Regions from separate parts of the Homo sapiens genome. Here regions 1 and 2 are each linked to region 3. Evidence: promoter capture Hi-C in human tissues and cell types (Jung and others, 2019). All regions are on one chromosome and are shown on one strand. Each heading gives the region's core, a stretch centred on a gene start or on the middle of the fragment in contact. The rest is flanking DNA. Distances are from core to core; before and after follow the strand shown.

Region 1 (4,413 bases), core at 1,886-4,385, 39 kb before region 3:
CCCCACAGGCCATGCCATCGCCATCAGTGCACACCCCTCTCCTGAGATGCCCTCTCTTCTTAAACATGCATCACACTTCAGCAACCAGCAGTAGCACTTGGATTTCTCTGGTCATCAAAAAGAATGGGATCAGATAAATGAAATGTGCTCTAGCTATAAAATGGAATATTATTCATCCATAAAACACGAATAAAGTACTGATTCATACTACAATGTGGATGAACCTGAAAAATATTTTGCAAATGCCAGGTATAGTGGCTCATCCCTATCATCTCAGCACTTTGGGAGGCCAAAGCAGGAGGTATCGCTTGAGCTCAGAAGGTTAAGACCAGCCTGGGCAACATAGTGAGACCCTATCTCTACTAAAAAAAAAAAAAAAAAAAAAATTAGCTGGGCACGGTGGTATGCACCTGCAGTCTCAGCTACTAGGGAGTCTGAGGTTGGAGGATTGCTTAAGCCAGGGAGATAAAGGCTACTGTGAGCTATTATATGATCATTCCACTGCACTGCAGCCTGGGCAACAGAGTGAGACCCTGTCTCAAAAAAAAAAAAAGTTGCAAAGTGAAAGAAGTCAGACACAAAAAGATACATATTGTTATGATTCCACTTATAGGACATATCCAGAATAGGTAAATCCATACAGACATTAAGCAGACTAGTGGTTGCCAGGGGCTGAGGGGAGGAGGAAATTCGGAGTGACTACTAATGGGTATTGGGTTTTCTTTGGGGCTGACAAAAATGTTTGGGATAGACAGAGGTGGAAAATTGAATTTCATCTCAATTTTTTAAAGCGTGGTTTTTTAGAAAACGCATCAATTATGTACAGAATTATGTACAGTGGCCACATAAAAAGAAATATCAGAGGTGGTCTCAGAGAATACAAAGAGCCCTGGACCTACGGTGAAAAATCTAGACACCAGTTCCATGTTTGATGCCTGGGACACATTAAGCAAATCATGGAACATCACTTCCAAGGGATGCTCTACCGCATGAACATGGTCGTAACACGTATTTTCAGTGTCGTTATGAGAATCGAGTGAGATAATGTAGGAACAGCACACAAAAGACATTCATTTGTACACTCAGCAAGAAAATTAGCATACAAATGTTACGTTTTTTGTTTTTTTTTTTTTTTTTAAAGGCAGACGTTGGCCGGGCACGGTGGCTCACGCCTGTAATCCAAGCACTTTGGGAGGCCGAGGTGGGCGGATCACGAGGTCAGGAGTTCGAGACCAGCCAGCCCAATATGGTGAAACCCCATCTCTACTAAAAATACAAAAATTAGCTGGGCACAGTGGCATGCGCCTGTAGTCCCAGCTACTCGACAGGCTGAGGCGGAAGAATCACTTGAACCCAGGAGGCGCAGGTTGCAGTGAGCCGAGATGGCGCCACTGCACTCCAGCCTGGGCGACAGAGCAAGATTGCATCTAAAAAAAAAAAAAAGCAGACACAAAGTTCTAGCTGTACTCGGCCGGGCATGGTGGCTCACTCCTGTAATCTCAGCACTTTGGGAGGCCGAGTGGGTGGATCACCTGAGGGTAGGAATTCAAGATCAGCCTGGCCAACATGGTGAAACCCCATCTCTACCAAAAATACAAAAATTAGCCAGGTGTGGTGGCAGGTGGCTGTAATCCAGCTACTAGGGAGGCTGAGACAGGAGAATCGTTTGAACCCAGGAGGCAGAGGTTGCAGTGAGCCGAGGTCCTGCCACTGCACTCCAGCCTGGGCAACAGAGTGAGACTCTAACTCAAAAAATAAAATAAAATAAAAATAGCTATAACAAACCACATTTACTTACATAAAAATGTATCTCTGTAGATAAAGTATAGAAAAGATTTAGAGAGCTAGCTGGTGTTTTAAGCTTATGAAATATTTTCTATAAAATTATCTATACAGGCAGCCAGGCTCTTGATCTGGCTCTGCCTATAACCAGCCTGGAAAGTCTTTATAAAATCTGCTCCCCATCTGACCTTGGGTTTTTAGAAAAGTTTAACCCTTATAAGGGTCTGCTTTAACTATATCCACTCAACACCTAGTTCCTCTATGTGCTAGGGGCTGTGCTAGGTGCCATGGGGGCCCCCAGGGATTGGTAAGAGTGAGTCCCAATACTCCAGGTGTGTACAGTCGCAGGCCATGAAACCAGGTAGCATGTGGGGAAAAAGGACAGACGGCCCAGCACATGCTAGTTCTCAGGGTGGCCACTGGAGAAGGTATCCTTGGAGTCAGGGTCTAAAGGTGGGATGCAGCTTTCACAGGTGGAAAGGATGTGTTCCTGCTAATAGTCCTGTCCAAGCAGCACAGATAGGTAAGGGAAGCACCACCAAAAATCCTCAACTGATTATCTAGCACAGTGGTTCTCCAAGTGGGATATCCAGAGCAGGAGCAGCTGCAGCATCACCCAGGAAGCAGCTAGACATGCAAATTATTGGGCTCCACCTCTGACCTTGTGACTCAGAAACTCTGGGAGCCCAGCAAGCTCTCCAGGAGGTTAAGATGCCCACTCATGTTGAGATGCCCCTCTTGCACCTCACCTGCTTCCTTAACAGAGGCCGGGCAGAAGGTAGAAACTGCCCCAGAGACATTCCCTCACTCACCGGCCCCTCCCACCCTCCAAGCCCCAGTTGGATGAGCTGAGAAAGTTCCCTGTGGTTAGAGGAGCTAATCTATCACCTGGATATAAATTAACTTGCCCTCTCTCGTCACCAGCCCACTGACCTGGGAAAGGCAAACACGCAGCTGGCAGGGAAAGAGCAGTAATAAATCTCTTTTTCTACAGGTCCTCCCACACCCACTTCCCCAACTGAGACCTGTGTTCCCTGAGGCAGTGTGGCCCCATAGCCCTGAGGTCCCTCTGCTCTCCCACATGAGCAGGTGCTGGATCCGGTCAACCCAGTGAGAGGCCCCCATCTGCCCTCAGGGCCTCCACCAGAACTAGGAGAATGAGAAAGGGAGGGAAGGATGGGGGCTGGAACACAGCTCATCACCCTTAAGGATGGCAGAGTGACTGGAAGCTTCCCTTGTAGAACTCCTCAGGAAACAGCCCACAAAGACTCCCTCCAGGGCAGCTCTGTCTTGGCAGAGTTCCATCCCCCTCCTCCTCCTCCCCCAACCCTTATCCCCCAATTCCTCCTCCTCCTCCTCAACACAGCAGCCTGGGGCCACCCCGTACCTCCCAGGCATAAGTAGGAATGGTAGAGCCATATCCCAAGGTGAACTGCCTGTTGGGGAAGGGCTAATCTCCTATTATTCCAACACCCTTGGCCACATCCTGCACTCTGTCTGCCTTTGGAATGACCAGGTGAAAACCAACATAACGTCCACCTTAGAAAGCTGCAGTAAGAATGAAATCTAACAGGACACATAAAGGACATAAAATAAAGGCTCAACAATGGCAGCTCTTAGATTAATCACCATCACATCCATTCTTTTTTTTTTGGAGGTAGAATCTCACTAGCTCTGTCGCCCAGGCTGGAGTGCAGTGGTGCAATCATAGCTTACTGCAGCCTCGAACTCCTGAGCTCAAGCGATCCTCCCACCTCAGCCTCTTGAGTAGCTAGGACTACAGGCATGTATCACCTTGCTGGGCTAACTTTTTCATTTTTTGTAGAGATGCAGTCTCACTATGTTGCCCAGGCTGCTCTCAATCTCCTGGCCTCAAGTGATCCTTCTGCCTGGGCCTCCCAAAGTGCTGGGATTACAGACGTGAGCCATCTCACCCCATCCTTATTCAAACTACTTAAATAGCTATCACCTACTGGATACGGCCTAAATTCCTTAGCACTAGCCATTCCAGCACCCACTTATCTCCAAAGCAGCAGCTATACCAAATCACTCAGGTTTGTCAAATATGCCCTCTACTACCAAGCCTAACCCGTTCCCTCCATGAGCCTCCTGTTTCAGTCTGCCAGAAAGCTCTTCTTCCTTGCCCTGTGCCTCCACCAACCTCTTCCATTGCAGTTTCCCTGGGCCTCCTGGAATCCACAGTCAAGGGCGTACTAGTGCCTGCTTCGAGGAGAGCCTGCCATCCACCATTGGGGTCCACTCAGAGGGCTGAGCAAGTATAAGAGCAAAACAAGTGTCTGGCAAGTGGACTGGATTCCCTTCAGTTCAGAAGGGAAACCAGAGCCTCAAATAAGCAGGGAGCAGACCCCTGACAGGCCTCACCGATCACTGACTAAGGAGTTAGATCACCGGGCTGGGGGCCTGTCCTCGGCACCTAGGGGAGGTAACACTCATAGTGCCTGAACTGAGACAGAAACTCCTGAGACAACAGATGCTGACTCAGCCTGAGGGGACAAAGGACAAAGGCCTAAGCCTGGCCCAGGATCCCAGTGCCTATCTTTCTCCTTCCCCTGCCTCTTATCCCCAACCCCCAGCCAGCAACATGTTTTAAGTCCAAGCTCCCACAGAGTG
Region 2 (4,485 bases), core at 426-2,925, 43 kb after region 3:
TTTCTGAGTAGCCTCTACTATTAACTTTACCATCTGTTCCGCAGTTTCAGCTGCAATACTTTTTTCATAAATGAAAAAGCCAACCTCTGAAGCTGAATAGGCTCTACATGAGGAGAGGTGGTCTAACCTCTGAGCTGGGAACATCTAGGCTGCGATCAGATGGCATTTAGAAGGGAAGTGTTCTCCTTTGGAACAAAGACCACACTCTTAGGCCGTGGTGATGATCTGAGAAAGAGCTGGCAGACTCAGGTGGGGAGCACATCACTGCTACAGGCACCATGATCAAGTCGTCACTGGGAAAAGTGACTAGAACATACCCAGCACCAGAGGCCTAGAGCTAGATCAGCTGTGACCCAGCGGAGGACACCCCAAGGCAGTGTCCTTCCCACCACTTCTTACTGCGAGCCTGAGTAAGGGGGGGCCACTCCTGGGATTCCTGTGTTTGGAGGCATTTTCAGAATGAGGTACTTGAACTTCACCACATCTTGCTTTAATGTAAGATGAACAGTGCTGGGCAACAGGATCTCCCGCTGAACTTCTGTTAGAAAAGTTACACTAACAGGCTGGGCGTGGTGGCTCACACCTGTAATCCCAGGCGTGGTGGGAGGCCAAGGCGGGTGGATCACCTGAGGTTAGGAGTTCGAGACCAGCCTGGCCAACATGGTGAAACCCCATCTCTACTAAAAATACAAAAAATTAGCCAGGTGTGGTGGCGGGTGCCTGTAATCCCAGCTACTTGGGAGGCTGAGGCAGAAACATCGCTTGAATCCGGGAGGTGAAGGTTGCAGTGAGCTGAGATCGTGCCATTGCACTCCAGCCTGGGCAACAACAGCGAAACTCTGTCTCAAAACAAAAAAAGAAAAGTTACACTAACAAAACCCCAGCTTGTTATAAGACAAGGTTCCTCAACCCCATGCTGATTAATATCTTAGATTCCCTGGTCACTTGCATGAGGAACCCCTTGTCCCTCTGCAGCCAGCTTGCAGACTGGCTTAGCCTGAAGACTGACTGGCAGGGAAGGACTTTTTGGAAACCTCTTAATATAATCTGTCTTTCCTGTAAGTGCAGAACCATTATGAATAGCAGAATTAGATTTTAAAATTGTCAAAGAGCTGGAGTCCATAATTGAACTGAAATTCTCCCATATTCCTGCAACACCACATTCAGGCCTACTGACTATGAAAAATCACTGCACTCACTGGTAGGTATTTCAAATCCAGGCAGAGCACACACCAGTTTATTTTGAAATGCAACACAGATCAGTATTTTATGAATACAACTTATTACTACATTATCAGGTAAAAACAGCTTTCAAATGCATGCATAGAAAGTTAAGCGTAGTCTCTGGACTCCTTATTTCTAAATATACAAAAAATACATTTAAATTATATAATTTTAGTGAATCAAAGACTTATAAAATTACAATTTTGGTTTTCACAACATAGAAAAAATACAAAAATGACTATATATACGGTTGTACAATTTTTTACCCAAATTTCAAAGGAGCAGTATGTATTGAATTTAATGTTTTATAATGTTTTATCTGAAACTCAGAACTGCAAGTAATTTGCAGGTTGTACCATATCAATGCCAACCTTTTATTATAAATGAATAACCAAAAAAATAAGTGAAAAATGAGGGCACGATCTCTTCTTACACCTCTTCAACTCTCCAGCATCTAAACCTTTCCTGTCAGAAGTCTGCTCTGGAGACTTTTTTCATCTGCAAGGACAGTGCTTTATTCCATGACTAACTCTCCATGGTGCCTCTGGATAATGGTTGGTATGTGTTAAATGAATAAGCCCAACCTCAGCAAACAGAACGCAGCAAGATGTAGATTAGCAGTCTGTGCTGACAAAAGCACTACTGCGGACCTCAAAGAATTCTCTGTCAGAAGAAGGCCCCCACGGAGGGATCTGAAATACATAATCAAGTGGGTAGTTGGGAGGATGATGCCTTTGACTATGCCCTGAAATGAAACCTCTAAGTCTGACAAAATACCCACAAAAACATGACCTTCCTTGTTCACACTTTATAAGAAGGTGTGACATTTGGTGGTGTGGTTGTTCTCAATTTATAAAATAATAAATGACTTCAAAGGAGAAATGAATTCATGTTAGGGATAAAGAAACCAGTTACTGAGAGAGGTTACTGAAGGACACAGTGACATGCCTTACTTATCTGCCATAAGTATTCTAAATGTTGATGTACAAAAATACACACTGGGGTTGAGACCCTTTTTGAAAAGGGAGCTGTGTGCTGTGTTCTCATTGCCAAAGTTCAATTCAATGCAACACCACTGTTTGCAACAGAATGTTTTTTATAAGTAGTGACAAATTATAATAAGGAGGCCCAAATAAAACCCCCAGTCCAGCAACCCTGGAAAAGCTGCATTTTTCATCCTGATTTCTAGAATTTTTCCAAAAACAACTGAAAAAATCTAACAGAACAAAGTAAATGACAAATATAACCCAAGTTGATTCTATTTTATAGTAGAAATACATTATGGAAGAATAAAATGAGAGAAAAGTCATGCAAAAAATCTTTCCCACATATTTTGTCTATCAAATACAAGAATAGATTCTAATTTCAACATGTCCAAGTTGAGTGCTGACTTTAAGAAGCAGAATTTTAATGTTCAATTCAAAAATAATTTATTACACACCTGCCTGCATTAAATTTTCAAACTTCTATAAAAATAAGCACTTAAAAATTTAGTTTTCCAGGGGTTGGGTGCAGTGGCTCATGCCTGCAATCCCAGCACTTTGGGAGGCTGAGGCGGGTGGATCACGAGGTCAGGAGATCAAGACCATCCTGGCTAACACGGTGAAACCCCGTCTCTACTAAAAATACAAAAAAAATTAGCTGGGTGTGGTGGCAGGCACCTGTAGTCCCAGCTACTCAGGAGGCTGAGGCAGGAGGATGGCGTGAACCCGGGAGGTGGAGCTTGCAGTGAGCTGAGATCGCGCCACTGCACTCCAGCCTGGGCAACAGAGCGAGACTCCGTCTCAAGAGAAAAAAAAAATTTAGTTTTCCAGTATGAGTTTTCTGATATTCGCAATTATATTTTAAATGACAACTACTCAATAAGCTAAACTTTTAAACTCTTAAAGTTCAACATCAACCCCCACCCTGCCCCCAAAAAAAGGCAGCTGCAGGGGATGGGGGAGGAAAAAAGGCTCCATGAAGAAGATACTGTGCTATTTAATACTTAATGCACATCTAAACTTGGGCTTTCACATTTTCATCCAACTCTTTCTTTCTTATTTTTTTTCAGTTTACCTACAGTTGCAGTACCAATCCTTTCTTGAGGAGTTTTAAATGCATGGTTGAGCAATTAAATTGTATGAGGATGTGACATGGATTAGACAATGTCGGTAGTACCAAACTATTTCTTGGCTGCTCCAACATGCGGAGATGACACTGCTTTTAGCTCATGACAGCCCAAGGGGAATGTTTTACTGACTATGGACTTATAGCTTGGTGGAAATTAACATAGGAAGTTAATTAGCAAAAGTATCCAAACAGAAGAGTGAATGAAAATTTAAAAATAAAACAATAATGGTGTATAAATCTATTCCTGAATGTTTTTCCTGACTACCTTTCTAAAGCAACACCTTCCATGTGCTTTCACTAACACAGCCTCCTTTCCTATGTGACTGGATCCGCTTCTTCAGGGCCATCAGTGCATCAGTGAGAATAGCTACTGGCAAACACGTTACTCAGAGGTGTTCTGAGAATGGTGCTGTGAAAAGGACTTGTCACTTTTGAGCTATTGAGCTCCCCCTTTCTGAGACCTGTCATTTTGTTAAGACATGATTGAGGCTGAGCTCCAGATAAGATATATTCTTTACGGTACACACATACTTATTAGATTCAAGCACGTTTCTTAGTGGCAGGCAGTAATGACTCAATTGGAAACAAACAAAAGGGTTCTAAGTTGTTTTCTGATTACAGGCACTACCCCGAAGCTTCATAGACATATACATTTTATAATTCATTCATTAGATGTGAGGGGATAGGTCCCAGCCATAACTTCAGAGCATTCCAGAGAACAGAGTTTGCCGCTTCAAAAATACAAAGTTTCCAGCATGCAGTCAAGCACTTTGACAAGGGAATGCTAAACACACTGCAGACTGAAACATAACTATACTGCAAGCTGGGCTATTCAGCTGGTACGACTTCATTATTCAGACTGTAACTCTCAAGTACTTAGTGTTACAGGTCTTCATTGATCAGATACATGAAGGACACAGAAGGACATAAAATGCCAAATCCCTTTCTAGTGCCATCATAAATATTAAGAACTTCTGGTTGAAAGAGCATGCTGAAATGAACTGGCCAGGGTGTTTTATGTAACAACCTTTTTCTAAAATAAAATCTCAGGCCCATGTGACACTGGATTTTTGTTTTAGTTTTGTTTGAATATTTTAAAAATAGTTCTTACTTATTTTCTATGAAACGTATTGGGAACTCAAAAAATCT
Region 3 (4,721 bases), core at 1-2,500:
GGAAGAAGTAGCGCTGGTACAGCCGCTCCAGTTTGTCCGACGGGAACTTCTTGGAGCGGAATATCTGCAGCAACGCCAGGCAGCAGGCGCCCAGGGACAGCACCGCGCCGGGCCCCGCGCCCGAGCCCGAGTCCGCCGAGCTGCCGCCATCCCCGGACCCCTCGCCGCCCTCGACGGCGCCGGCCTCCAGCTCGTCGGCCGCGCGCCCCTTGCCCCGCCGCTCCTCCAGACCCACCTCCACCGAGCGAGGGCGCACCTCCGTCCCGCCCGCCGAGGCAGCCGCCGCCGCCGAGCCGCCGCCGCCGCCCGCAGGGGGCGCCCGGGTGCTGCCCCCGCTGGCCGCGCCCCGCCGCTGCCGGCGGCTGCCGCGACCGCAGTCGTCGCCGCCGCGCTCCTGCCAGGCGGACTTGGAGCGGAAGCTGAAGCCGAAGCCCCCGGCCAGGGGGTCGTCACCGCTCAGCGGAGGATCGTCGTCGTCGTCGCTGCGCCAGCGGCTGGCCAGGCGCTGCTGCTGCTGCGGGGTCACCGCCCCCCCGGGTTTCTTGGTGGAGCCGCGGGCAGAGCCCCCGGGGGCATGGGGGTAGCCATTCGCGCGGGAATCGGCCTCGCCCCACGCAGAGCGGTGTTCGGGGCCTCCCCGGGGCGCCGGCGCCGCAGTCTTCTGCGCCGCGTAGCCCGGGGGGCTCACGCTTTTGGAGCCGGACATCCCCCCCTCGGCCTCGTCGTCTCCTTCCTCCTCCCCCGGAAGCCGGGCCGGGGGTCTCCAAGGGGAGGGCGGACGGCCGAGCAGGGGGACCAGGCTAGGGTCACACGTCGGGGGCGGCCCGGGGCCCTGCGCTGCAGCGGGGCATCTTGGCACCCCCGTCCTGAGCGGAGGAGGAGGGCACAGCCCCGAGGTGAGAAGTAGCTGAGGATCCGCGTCAGAAGTCCCAGGTCCGAAATGGAGTTGCCTCCGAGGTGGGGTCGCAGGGACTGGTCTGGCTGCTGCTGCGCCGCACGCGGAGAGACGTCCGGGATCCTGGCTCGCGTCGAGCTCGACGAGGGCCGGAGTTGCGGACGAGACGGGACGGAGTGGTGTCCTTGCGGGCGGTGCCTCCTCGGGCCGGCAGTGCCCGGGCGCGGCGCTCGCTGATTCCGCCTAAGCGGAGCCCAGCTGCTCTCGGGGCTCGGCGGCGGCGAGGGCGGCTCGGCGGGGGTCCCGGCGAAGAGACACTGCGGGTGCGCTTTCCTCGCAGCGGACTGGGAGCGACTGGGAGGTGCGGGCGCCAGCCAGCATTATTTTCTTACGAGGGGTGGGGAGGTGGGATGGGAGGTGGAGAGGACGGGGGAGGGGGCGACGGGCGGAGCAACAGCTCCGGAGCCCCGGGGGGGAGGGTCCTGGAGCCCGGGGGGGCCGTTGCCCGCATCCCCCACCTCTCGCGGCGAGAGTGGATGCGTGGCCCCGGCGAAAGCCGAGCCGAGCCTTCGGCGCGTCCGCGCAGGGGGCGGGGTCCGGGTCAGGGACCGGCTCCTGCGGTGCGGCCCTTCCCCTCTCGCCTCTCCCTTTCCCGCAAACGGAGCGGGGCCGGCCGGGACCTGCCGGCCCGGAGAGCTGTCGCGCCCGCTTCGCAAGCCCCAAGCTCCTCGTCGCCGGCTGCGGGCCCACCGCGGCCGGCGCGGAACGACTAGGCGGAGGACGGAATCCGGCGCAGCGCTGCCGCGGTTCTGCCCCGACGCAGGCAGGCTTCTCCCGGGGAGTAAGGCATCCAGAGATCCAGCGCCGGGGCTCAGAAGCAGCCGGCCCAGAGGGGCCCGCCTGAGAGCCGCGGCGCCCGAGAGGCGCTCCGGGGGGGCCCGCGGGAGCCCGGCTCAGGGCGCGCCATGCACGCTTCGGGCCCTGCGCCGCTCCGGCCGCTCGCGCCGCTCCTCCCTTCTCGCCCGCTCGCCGCCGCCGGAGAGCCCTCCGCATCCCCTCCTCCCGCTGCCTCCCCGCCCCCCGCGCCGCCCGGGCCTCGGCTCACAGCCGCGCGAGGCCGCCTCCGCCCCCGGCCTGGCCATGGCCCCAGCCTCGGCGCCCCGCGGGCATCCTCAGGCCTGGCCGCGGGCACCCCAGTTCCCCTTCCTCACCTAAAATTCTCGCTGCGCCCCTCCCTCCCTGGGACTAGGAGCCGCATCCAGCCTGCGGTCCCGTCACCAGACCTGGGTGGAGCGCGGTCTTCCCCCGCCCCCGGCCAGGGCTCCAGCGCCCCCAGTCCTAGCTCCCCTCTTTTGTATCCCCCTTTAATCCCCCTCCCCCCATTTAACCCAACTTCAGCCCCGGCGCTGCGCCCCCCTTCCCTGGCCCGGCTCGATTGGCCGCTTCCGGAGCTGTCAGACTACAGTCCGGCGCTCTTATTGGGCGATTCTCTGGCCCGGCGGCTGTGCCAAAGGAGGGCGCACCGGGTGGGGGGCGCCTGGGCAGCGAGTGCCTCAAGGAGAAGGAGAACAGAGTCCCTGGAGGGGTCTCAGGGGCCGGAGAGCCAGACCCGGAAATGGACAGGGGAGATGCAGAAACAGGACTTCTGAGACGCAGGAAGACAGTGATGGAAAAGATGGTGATGCAGTGGGTGAGGCCGATGCAGCCGGGGCGGGGCGGACAGGGAGGCTTTGGTGGGTAGTTACCAGGAGAAAGCCCCACAGTGAACACTGGAAACACCTGGCTTTTATAAAGCGCTCTTTGCCTGTTCGTAAAGTCTCATAAATCTCACTTGGTTCCCGTCAGTAATCCTAGGATGAGACAGAGGACAGAGACCGTGTAGCTATTCCCAGCTTATAGATGCAGAAACTGAGGCTCTGGGAGCTTATTCAACTTGCTATAGGTCACACAGGTCTACTAACTTGGCACCCAAAGGTCCTTCGTCAGCGCCAGACTGCCTCCCTAACCTAACAAGGTGTTAGCAGGAAGGATGGGCACCTGAGCAAGCTGGCGTGCCCACTTGGGGGGAAGCAGGGGAAGGGGAAAATGGCTAGATACACAGCACCAGCCACAAGAGGCAGGAATGGAGAGAAGGATTCGACTGCTAGGCAAAAAGGACGTAGGCCTGTAGAATGATGTGTCTACCCAATTCCCTTTGCCCCCAAGCTGTCCTGCTGGAGTTCTGACAGTCTAAACCCTGGAGAGGTGGGAGACCACACTCCTACCCAGCCTGGGGGTAAACAGCTTTTACTTTCCCCTTCTTCATCCTCCAACTCTCTCCCCAGAGCTTCTGACAGGGAGCCTAGAGGTCTAAGTGAGCTTCCTTCTTTGTCTCTCTCTGCTGGTCATCTCTGCAGACTGGAAGATAAACCTTGCCAGAGTTACAAATTGGGAGGAGAAAAATTCCAAGAGGTCAGAATAAACTAACCCTTGGGTAATCCAGCCTTTGAGTATTCCACTATTAGCCAAGTTGTAAAAAAAAACATGAATTTAGTCAATAAAAATTCTAGAGAACCCTCAATGTACAAAGCATTGTGCTAGTTGCTACCAGGATAGAGAGATGACCAAACTCTAGACCGGGAACAAGTCGAACAAGTCAGTGACGGAGAAGAGCTAGCCACTATCTCTAGGTCAGAGCAAAGTTCTGGGTTCAATAGAAGTGCAAACAGCACCTCGGGCATTCAGAGAGAGGGGGTGTCACTTCCCACTGTGAGGGCCAAACAAGGGCCTGGAAGTCAAACCTGGGTCTAGCAGGGAAGGATGTCTAAGAAAGGGAGGATGGACTAATTAATATTTACTAAGCAACTGTTGTATGTCTGTAAACATTTTATTGTCAGATAACTATTCTGAGGAAGGTTATCCCCACTATAAAGATGAGAAAACAGACTTAGGGAATCAAAAAGTTTGTCCAGCCAGGCATGGTGGCTCATGCCTGTAACCCCAGCACTTTGGGAGGCTGAGGCAGGCAGATCATCTGAGGTCTGGCGCTCATGACCAGCCTGGCCAACATGGTGAAACCCGTCTCTACTAAAAATACAAAAATTAGCCGGGCGTGGCGGTGTGAGCCTGTAATCCTACTCTGGAGGCTGAGGCAGGAGAATCACTTGAATCCGGGAGGTGGAGGTTGCAGTGAGCCGAGATCATGCCATTGCACTCCAGCCTGGTTGACAGAATGAGACTCTGTCTCAAAAAAAAAATAAAAAATAAAAAGGCCGGGCATGGTGGCTCACGACTCTAATCCTAGCACTTTGGGAGGCCAAGGCAGGCGGATCACGAGGTCAAGAGATCGAAACCATCCTGGCCAACGTGGTGAAACCCTGTCTCTACTAAAAATACAAAAATTAGCTAGGCGTGGTGGTGTGTGCCTGTAGTCCCAGCTACTTGGGAGGCTGAGGCAGGAGAATTGCTTGAACCCAGAAGGTGGAAGTTGCAGTGAGCCAAGGTTGCACCACTGCACTCCAGCCTGGCAACACAGCAATACTCTGTCTCAAAAAAAATAAAATAAAATTATTTATATATATATATATATATATATATGAGTTTGCCCAAAGCTCATAGTTGTAGCAGTCTGCTCGTTGTATTCTACCATGCAGCAATGTAGCAGATATGACATGGGTGGCACCCTCAAGACATAGTCAACTGCACGGACAGGGGCCACAGGGCCAGAGGTATCAAGGCTATTGATCAAGGTTCCATCCTTGATCCTCTCATCTTCTCATTCCCAGAGCTATCCCTAAGTCATTCCTCTTAATTTTATTCAATTTTTAAAAATAATTGTCTTACAACA

The links. Contacts are between HindIII fragments. The study calls those that stand out against the background at their distance.
Region 1: a contact is called between a fragment that was not itself captured here and the fragment with the promoter of ADCY5 in region 3, in 3 of the 25 tissues and cell types used here (dorsolateral prefrontal cortex, hippocampus and stomach).
Region 2: a fragment that was not itself captured here is called in contact with the fragment with the promoter of ADCY5 in region 3 in 1 of the 25 tissues and cell types used here (adrenal gland).

The regions. Positions count from the first base shown.
Region 1 is chr3:123,407,226-123,411,638 of GRCh38, forward strand. All of the region lies in intron 1 of ADCY5 (adenylate cyclase 5), which reads right to left. Among named protein-coding and RNA genes, the nearest start is that of ADCY5, 40 kb to the right of the region's middle. The HindIII fragment of the contact is 4,514 bases long and covers 879-4,413 here.
Region 2 is chr3:123,490,346-123,494,830 of GRCh38, forward strand. It overlaps HACD2 (3-hydroxyacyl-CoA dehydratase 2), which reads right to left. Exons shown (of 7, transcript NM_198402.5): 7 at 1,209-4,485. Among named protein-coding and RNA genes, the nearest start is that of ADCY5, 43 kb to the left of the region's middle. The HindIII fragment of the contact is 7,460 bases long and covers 1-4,485 here.
Region 3 is chr3:123,447,840-123,452,560 of GRCh38, forward strand. It overlaps ADCY5 (adenylate cyclase 5), which reads right to left and starts at 1,251. Exons shown (of 21, transcript NM_183357.3): 1 at 1-1,251. The coding sequence starts at 706. RefSeq lists an enhancer at 1-312. The HindIII fragment of the contact is 15,282 bases long and covers 1-4,721 here.